Linked DNA regions of Homo sapiens: regions 1 and 3 are each linked to region 2. Evidence: promoter capture Hi-C in 16 types of primary human blood cells and fetal thymus (Javierre and others, 2016). All regions are on one chromosome and are shown on one strand. Each heading gives the region's core, a stretch centred on a gene start or on the middle of the fragment in contact. The rest is flanking DNA. Distances are from core to core; before and after follow the strand shown.

Region 1 (2,700 bases), core at 61-2,560, 260 kb before region 2:
ATGAAATGTTTGTCATACTCTTTGAATTATAGTGGCTTTGTATATTCAGATGTTAAATCTTTATCTGTTACACAAATTACATATATGTTATTCCTGTCAGTGGCTCATATTTTTTTTTCTTTCTATTGAAGCATTCATTGAATGTCAGTCAGTCTTTTAACTTTTATTTCTAGATCATACAGCCATTTAAATGTTTCATATAGTAAAATCTTCAAATATTTTCCTTTATAGCTCCAAAGTTTTATGCCTTAAGAAAGCTAGCCCTATCACAAGAATATAAAAGTAATCCTTTTTGTTTTTAAAATTTGAATTGTGGTAAAACATATATAACATACAATGTACCATTTTAGCCATGTTTCAAGCTTACAGTTCAGTAGCATTGAGCACATTCACATTGTGGTACAGCCATCACCACCATCCATCTCCAGAACTTTTCTGTCATCCCATATTGAAACTCTCTCTTTGTGTTTTCTTATAATGCTTTTGCTTGTTTCCTTTAATTCCTTATAGTTCACTTTTGTATGTTAAGTGAGGTAAGGATGAGTCCATTCATCATTCCTCCACTCATCTAAAATCCACTGCTGTCACATTCTAAAGTACTGAACACATATGGGCCTGTTCTGTAGTTTTGAATTTGTCTATCCTACGCTGGCCTTCTGTTATGGGTTGATAGTATGGATCTTGAAGTTAAGGGAGTGTCAATTCTGTTTCTAGTTTGCTAAGATAATCTTCATTCTTTTCCTTTCTCATGATAGTTTTGAATTTTTTCCATTATTCTTTTAGAATCACATGAAATGAATGAGGATAAACATTTCCTTTTTTTTTTTTTTTTTTTTTTTTTTTGAGACAGTCTCACTCTTGTCACCCAGGCTGGAGTGCAGTGGCACGATCTCAGCTCACTGCAACCTCTGCCTGCCAAGTTCAAGCTATTCTCTTGCCTCAGCCTCCTGAGTAGCTGGGACTATAGGCTCATGCCACCACCCTCAGCTAATTTTTCTATTTTTAGTAGAGACAGGGTTTCACCATGTTGTCCAGGCTTGTCTTGAACTCCTGACCTCAAGTGATCCACCCACCTTGGCCTCCCAAAGTGTTGGGATTACAGGCGTGAGCCATCATGTCCGGCCAACGTTTCCTTCTAATCAGTTAAAATGATGAGTTACTTTAATAGGTTTCCTAATATCAAACTGTGTGAATTCTAGATGCAGTGGCTTTTTCAGTGTGTCCTATTCTTTTTATTATACATACAAAGGCAACAAGACCCTATCAAAAGAACGAAATGAAAAAAGAAAGAAGCTAAGCATTTCAAAAGAAAAGCATGTCTATTCTATTTGCTTTTATTTTACTTAGGATTTTGGCGTCTATATTAATCTCCTCAGGCTTTGGCCCATAGTTTTCTTCCCCTCCACCCCCTACTTCTGTGTGTGTGCTTTCCTTTGTCTAGTTATGTAAAAGGGGTAATTCAATCCTTGTAGAATGAGATGGGAAGTGCTTTTCCCCTCTCATACTCTAAAACAGTTTTATAGTACAGAAATGATAGTTCCTTGATGGGTTGATAGAAGTGACCTACAAAGCCATTTGGGCCTGTTTTTAGGGTGTCTTCGTTTGCTGATGCCATGTTGATGGACAACTAGAACACAGATCCTGCCACGTGATCCCTTCCTCCTGTGTTAGGTAATCCGTCTCAGCTTGCCATGGCCTGGGCCAGCCAGTTACCATTGAGAAGAGAGTAGAGGTCATTGAGAATCCCCCTTTTCTGGAGCTCAGTTGAAGCACAGAATAAAGATCAAGGTCTGGCCTTCTAACTGATGATGTTAACATGAGATTAGTTTTCATCTTAATAGAATGGACGTAGGCTGGGCATGGTGGTTCACGCCTGTAATCCCAGCACTTTGAGAGACCTAGGCGGGTGGATCACGAGGTCAAGAGATCGAAACCATCTTGACCAAAATGGTGAAACCCCATCTCTACTAAAAATACAAAAATTAGCTGGATGTGGTGGCGTGCACCTGTAATCCCAGCTACTTGGGAGGCTGAGGCAGGAGTATTGCTTGAACCTGGGAGGCGGAGGTTGCAGTGAGCTGAGATTGTACCATTGCACTCCAGCCTGGGCAACAGAGCCAGACTCTGTCTCAAAAAAATAAAATAAATAAATAAAATAAAGTGGATATGTAATTGCTAGGAGGAGTCAGGTGGTGATTCTTTTCCAACAAGCAAGGGGATGTTATTAGATTAAGGCTTCTTGCTGATTCAGAAGCTTCTAATAGCTCTGTTCAGATTGCCAGACAGAGCACTGGACTATGGGTCAGGTCATCTGTTTTCAGCCAGCTGTGTGATCCTGGGCAAATCACCTATCCTTCTGGGCTTTGGTTTTCTTACCTGGTTTAGAGAGGAAGTTGACTTAATTCAGTGACTGTTGTGGTGGCAGGATCAGAATCTCCTCAGGCTTTGGAAACCGACGTTTTTTAATGCTTAGAAACAAACTACCCATTTTTTTGACATTTATGAGGCAATTGGAAATTTTAACACTGACTGGATAGTTGTTGATATTACGGAATTGTTAACCTTTTTAATGTGTGATAATGGTATTGTTAGGATTTTAAAACAGTCATTTTTTATTTTGGGGTTCCATACTGCAATATTTTTGGATGGAATGAATTTAAAAAGAAAAGTGAACACCAACTAGACTTCTCTAAGATCTGT
Region 2 (2,700 bases), core at 10-2,509:
TTCGTGATCATCTATAACTTCCATGTTGCCTAAACCCTATGGTCATTTTCTGGCCTTTCTCTTGGAATCCAGCAGCATTTGAAACAGCTGACAGTCCCTTCCTTGTTGAAACACTCTTGGCTTCTTCCTATACCACTGTCTTTTGAGTTTTTCCAGCTCATCCTTCTCTATCCAGCTTCTAAACGTTGGTCCTAGATGTGCAGGGCCTTCCTAGTGTTCTCACCTGTTCCCATGGTTTTATGGTCTAATGGTCTATATGATAATGGTATCCAAATTTATTTCTCAATCCATGGGTCACTTCCCTGAGTGGTCCATATAACTCCCCTGAGAGCCAAATTCTCACCTAAGTGATTATAGATCCCTTCACCTGAGTCTCTCCCGTAAGTCACACATACCATGTCCAAAATGTAACTCAATTTCCAAATCTCTTACCCAAGGCCTCCAGACCCTGCCTACGTGTCAGGCCTCACTAAGCTTGGTCACAATGTTCTGGTCAGGTCCTAGGCCAGGCCAGGCTCTTCCCTGCCTCATTTTTGTACTTGCTCCTTCTGCCTGAAACACGTTCCCTAGTATCTGCCTAAAGATCTTCCCTGAACCCCTGGCGGAGCCACCCCTACTCTGCTATACTCAATCACAGCACTCAGCCTCATGTGTAATTATTTCTTTTGTTTACTGTCTGTCTCCCCAACTCCAACAGTATAGAGATATTATCAATTTTGTTCGCCCAACGGGAGAGCTCAGTACTTTTGAATAGATGCAAAAATAAATGCATGCATGCTAAGCATACAACGGTAACCACATCGCTTCCAAAGCCCTGAAAATAACGTCTATTCCAGGAAAACCACCATTTTAATGGAGAGACACCGAGCACGCTTTAGGAGCCCAAGGAGGAGGCCGCCCCACCGCCCGCCCGGGAACTGAGGAGTGTGAGGCAGGGCCCGCGCGCTCTCCGACTCCGGCCGAAGCCGCTTTCTGATTGGCTGAGCGCACAAGGTCCGCCCGCCCCGCGCCGGCCCTCCCCTCCCCCCGCACCGGCCTCTGCTGTCAGCCGCAGGGCCAAGACCCGAGCTGAGCATATCCTCTCTCCCCGCCCAGGCCAGCCCGCCAGCCCTGCCCGCCCGAAGTACTGCTTCGCTAGGGGCCCTTCCCGCCGCGCCTCCCGACCGCCCGGCTCACCTGGGCCGGGAGGTCCCATCTTTCCTTGGCGTCTCCTGAGCTGGTTTTAAATCGCGCGCGTCGAGACGCCTGAGCGCCGTAACGGCCGCGTGACGTCGCCGGCGGGCCGGGCCAGCAGCGCGCCTGCGCAGACCACCTCGGGCCTCCGCGGGCGGCGTCAGAGTGAGTTTTGGGTTGAGGACCCCGTCTGATTGGGCTTCTTGGGGTCGGTGGACCCCCTGAAATAGTATGAAAACCCCCTCCTTCGAGGACTAGGTGCAGGACTGGGCTTGGGAACCCAGCGTCGAGCAGGGTGAGCAAGGCCCGTCTTTCGTGGAATTTACTTTCTTTTTTTTTTTTTTTTGGGACGAAGTCTAGCTCTTGTCCCCCAGACTGGAGTGCAGTGGCGCGATCTTGGCTCACTGCAACCTCCGCCTCCTGGGTTAAAGCGATTCTCCTGCCTCAGCCTCCCGAGTAGCTGGGATTACAGGCGCCTGCCACCACGCCTGGCCAATTTTTGTGTTTTTAGTAGAGACGGGGTTTCACCATGTTGGCCAGGCTGGTCTCGAACTCCTGACCTCAGGTGATCCGCCCACCTCGGCCTCCCGAAGTGCTGGGATTACAGGCGTGAGCCACCGCGCTCAGCCCGTGGAATTTACTTTATAATGGGGAGGCAGATGATCGAGAAAACGAGGTTTATTTCCCTTAGAGATCTGTGCTGTGTGGGCAGCAAAACGCTGAAAACCTCCGGGAAGAGGGACGGAGGGGAGCGGGAGCCTACGTGGGAATGAGGAGCGGTCCAGGTGGGGAAGAACTGATGCAGAAATGCTATGTATACATTAAATATAGTACAAAATGTACATTTAATATAGTGTAAGATGAAGGCCATCGTTTTATTCAGATTCTTGTGAATAGCTTCCTGTGAACACCCCCCACCCTTCAAAAAATAAATAAAGGTCGAAAAAGCGAAATAAGCATAAAATGCCATCTGTCCCCTCAGTTTCATCTAACCCTAAGGATTGAATTATGGGAGTAAAGGCCAGGGTGATTCCCTGGAATATCCCCAGCACATCCTAGAATTTCTTGTAACTCTCATATCTGGCATCTTTTACAGTGTTTCTCTTCAAGGGCACTGTTGGCATTCAGGGTGAAACAATCCTTGGCATGATAGGATGTTTGCCCTCTTTGTGGGCTCTTAAGCCCCCGTAACATCATTTGCCCACTAAATGCCATCAGTGCTGTCGCTCATTTTGGCAATCAAAAAGTGCCACCCTTTGTTGAAAACCACTTTTTTTTTTTTTTTTTTTGAGACAGAGTCTTGCTTTGTTGCCCAGGCTGGAGTGCAATGGCACGATCTCAGCTCACTGCAACCTCCACCTCCCAAGTTCAAGCGATTCTCCTGCCTCAGCCTCCTGAATAGCTGGGATTACAGGCGCCCACCACCACACCCAGCTAATTTTTGTATTTTTAGTAGAGATGGGGTTTCACCATGTTGGTCAGGCTGGTCTCGAACTCCTGACCTCAGGTGATCCACCCGCCTTGGCC
Region 3 (2,700 bases), core at 159-2,658, 370 kb before region 2:
AAAAGCCTTATTATCCCCCTTTGCAGTATTCCTCCCCTTCTTGGATTCCAGGCAACCATTGATCTGCTTTCTGTCATGCAGAGAGATTAGTTTTGGCAATTAGGTTCTAAGTACCGAGCAGGCCAGACCTGTGGGAAAAATTTAGTCTCGGCAGGGGGATAGGAGGCATAGGCTGGAGATCTTTGCTATATAATCTCATTATATGACTACACATTTTCCTTTGAGCTTACAGGTTTCTGGGTTAACCTCCTGACGTACTTTTTAATGGAAAGTCCCCAACTGTCAGAAATGGCAGGGGAGAATAATTTTTTGTTTAGTCTAAGTTTTTTGCCCTAGGTCTTTAGTGAGAATACCCAAGTTAGTAAGTCTGTGTTCTCTGCCCATAGGGTATCCCTAAATGCAAGTTGTTTCTTTCTTTTGAGGTCTTTCTTGTTGCCATCCTCTTACTTGTTGTATAGTAGGTTGTTGAAAACTGCTGAGAAAGTTAGGATGTTTCCCAGCCGTTCCAGGCTTTAATGCCCTGCATTGCATGAGGAGCATTGCCCTGGCCTTTTATCCTGTCCCATGGTTTAAACTGAGCTCTGACAGTTAACATTTTTCCAACAGAAGATGAATCCAGTTTTTCACTACCTGGGAATCTGCTAAAGATTCTAGCAGTCCAAGCAGCTGTGGATGCTCTCCTTATAAATGACCAGAAATCCAGGCCCCAGTCAGTAACCAACCTAGTAGCAATGAGCACCCCTAGCACTCAGATTTGTGGTCTCTAAATACCAATTCCCCCTAAAAGGAACTGCAGCTTCCTTGAGAAATGGCTGATGCAGGGTTTGAGGTAGGAAATCTATAAGTTGGAACTTCCCAGAAAAGCAAGGAAGTTATAAAAAACTTCTGGGTTTATGTAAAGAGACGCAGGAGCCAAACTGAATAGGCTCCTACTTGACAAAGACAGGTGAGTTGAGCATCAATAAGAATCTAACTTCAGGCCAGGCGCGGTGGCTCACGCCTGTAATGCCAGCACTTTGGGAGGCCACGGCAGGTGGATCACCTGAGGTTGGGAGTTCGAGACCAGCCTGACCAACATGGAGAAACCCCATCTCTACTAAAAAAAAAATACAAAAAATTAGCCGGGCGTGGTGGTGCATGCCTGTAATCCCAGCTACTTGGGAGGCTGAGGCAGGGGAATTGCTTGAACCTGGGAGGCAGAGGTTGCAGTGAGCCGAGATCGTGCCATTGCACTCCAGCCTGGGCAACAAGAGCAAAACTCTGTCTCAAAAAAAAAAAAAAAAAAAAAAAGTCTAACTTCAGTGCATTGCAACACATCAGATATGGTTAAATGTAGGAGTTTATAATGATACTTTAAAGAGAGAAATCTAGTCCCTAATTGCTTGATCTTCTCTCTGGTAATTATTAGGGAGATTAAGAGTCACAAGTACAAGAAGCCACAGAGAAACAGGCATAGTCTAGAAGGGCAGTGTATCCCATGCCCATAGCTGTGCCCTGCCCATGGCCCATTAAACAGCGGCCATGAGACCTTTTCCTGTTGTACGTGTGTGTGTGTGCACGTGTGTGGTCTTCACCAGCGGGGAAGCTGCAGTCCTACTTTGTCTGTTCTTACTGTGCTGGAAGGTTTAACATATGGGATTTAATTGTGGTTTTATCTCCAAATTTTTTAATTATACAGATGCGTCTTGACATACAATGGCGTTATGTCCCAATAAACTCATTGTAGGTTGTAGATATTGTAAGTTGAAAATGCATTCAATACACCTACCCTACTGAACATCATAGCTTAGCCTAGTCTACCTTAAATGTGCTTAGAACATTTACATTAGCCTACAGTTGGGCAAAATCATCTAACACAAAGCCTATTCTGTAACAAAGTGTTGAATGTCTGATGTAACGTATGGAATACAGTACACGATGCAGTACTGGTTGTTTACCCTTGTGATTGTGTGGCTCACTGGGAGCTACAGCTCACTGCTGCTGCCCAGCCTCAGTACAGAGTGTTGTACTACACATCGCTAGCCTGGGAAAAGATCAAAACTCAAATTTTGAAGTATGGTTTCTGCTAAGCGCAGATTACTTTCACACCATCATAAAGTTGGAAAATTGTAAGTCGAACCATTTTAAGTCAGCGATCTTCTATACAGGTAATGCATGCTTGTTGATAAAAACTTAAATACAGAAGATATAGAATATGCCTTGTTCCCCATCCTTATTTTTAGTTGCAAAATGGAGAGGTTTCAATTATTTTTTCAAGGTCACTGCTGGTTAGCTGTGGATCAGAGGCTTGAACTAAGATACTGACTTCAAGAAACATACCTCTTTTTCAAGTGGCACAAGTCATCCTTCTTCCATTTTTCTTCAGATAATCATGATGTCATTTCCTTGAAGTTGTTTGAACTGACAGTGGAGAGAACCCCAGAAGAGGAAAAGCTCCATCGAGATGTGTTCTTGCCCTCAGTGGACAATATGAAGCTGCCTGAGAGTGAGCACAGGGGCCCGCGGGAAATGGTCCCATAGTTGGGGAGGAGCTTGCAGTGCTGTACCCATAGCTCACAGGGCGGTCTCTGCTCTGTGTTCTTCTTCTGAAGGGTAGGGAGCACTTTCATCTGCCTTTCCCCTTCAAGTTACAGATGAGCAGCAGGAGGGCCGCTTTGTTTCTCAGTTGGAAAGAGGGGGTCTAAGCTCTGGCTTCCCAGA

The links. Contacts are between HindIII fragments. The CHiCAGO score rates a contact against its expected background, and 5 or more counts as called.
Region 1: a contact is called between a fragment that was not itself captured here and the fragment with the promoter of NCAPH in region 2, in 6 of 17 cell types (naive CD4 T cells, naive CD8 T cells, total CD8 T cells and 3 more). The highest score is 7.3, in naive CD4 T cells.
Region 3: a contact is called between a fragment that was not itself captured here and the fragment with the promoter of NCAPH in region 2, in 4 of 17 cell types (naive CD8 T cells, naive B cells, naive CD4 T cells and 1 more). The highest score is 6.7, in naive CD8 T cells.

Annotation. Positions count from the first base shown.
Region 1 is chr2:96,597,052-96,599,751 of GRCh38, reverse strand. The region is part of intron 20 of KANSL3 (KAT8 regulatory NSL complex subunit 3); the gene reads left to right. Among named protein-coding and RNA genes, the nearest start is that of KANSL3, 40 kb to the left of the region's middle. The HindIII fragment of the contact is 1,892 bases long and covers 365-2,256 here.
Region 2 is chr2:96,334,325-96,337,024 of GRCh38, reverse strand. NCAPH (non-SMC condensin I complex subunit H) reads right to left here and starts at 1,259. Exons shown (of 18, transcript NM_015341.5): 1 at 1,177-1,259. The coding sequence starts at 1,195. RefSeq lists enhancers at 103-944, 945-1,786 and a silencer at 865-1,184. The HindIII fragment of the contact is 5,174 bases long and covers 477-2,700 here.
Region 3 is chr2:96,707,499-96,710,198 of GRCh38, reverse strand. It overlaps LMAN2L (lectin, mannose binding 2 like), which reads left to right. Exons shown (of 8, transcript NM_030805.4): 7 at 2,366-2,485. Among named protein-coding and RNA genes, the nearest start is that of LMAN2L, 31 kb to the left of the region's middle. The HindIII fragment of the contact is 5,025 bases long and covers 1-2,700 here.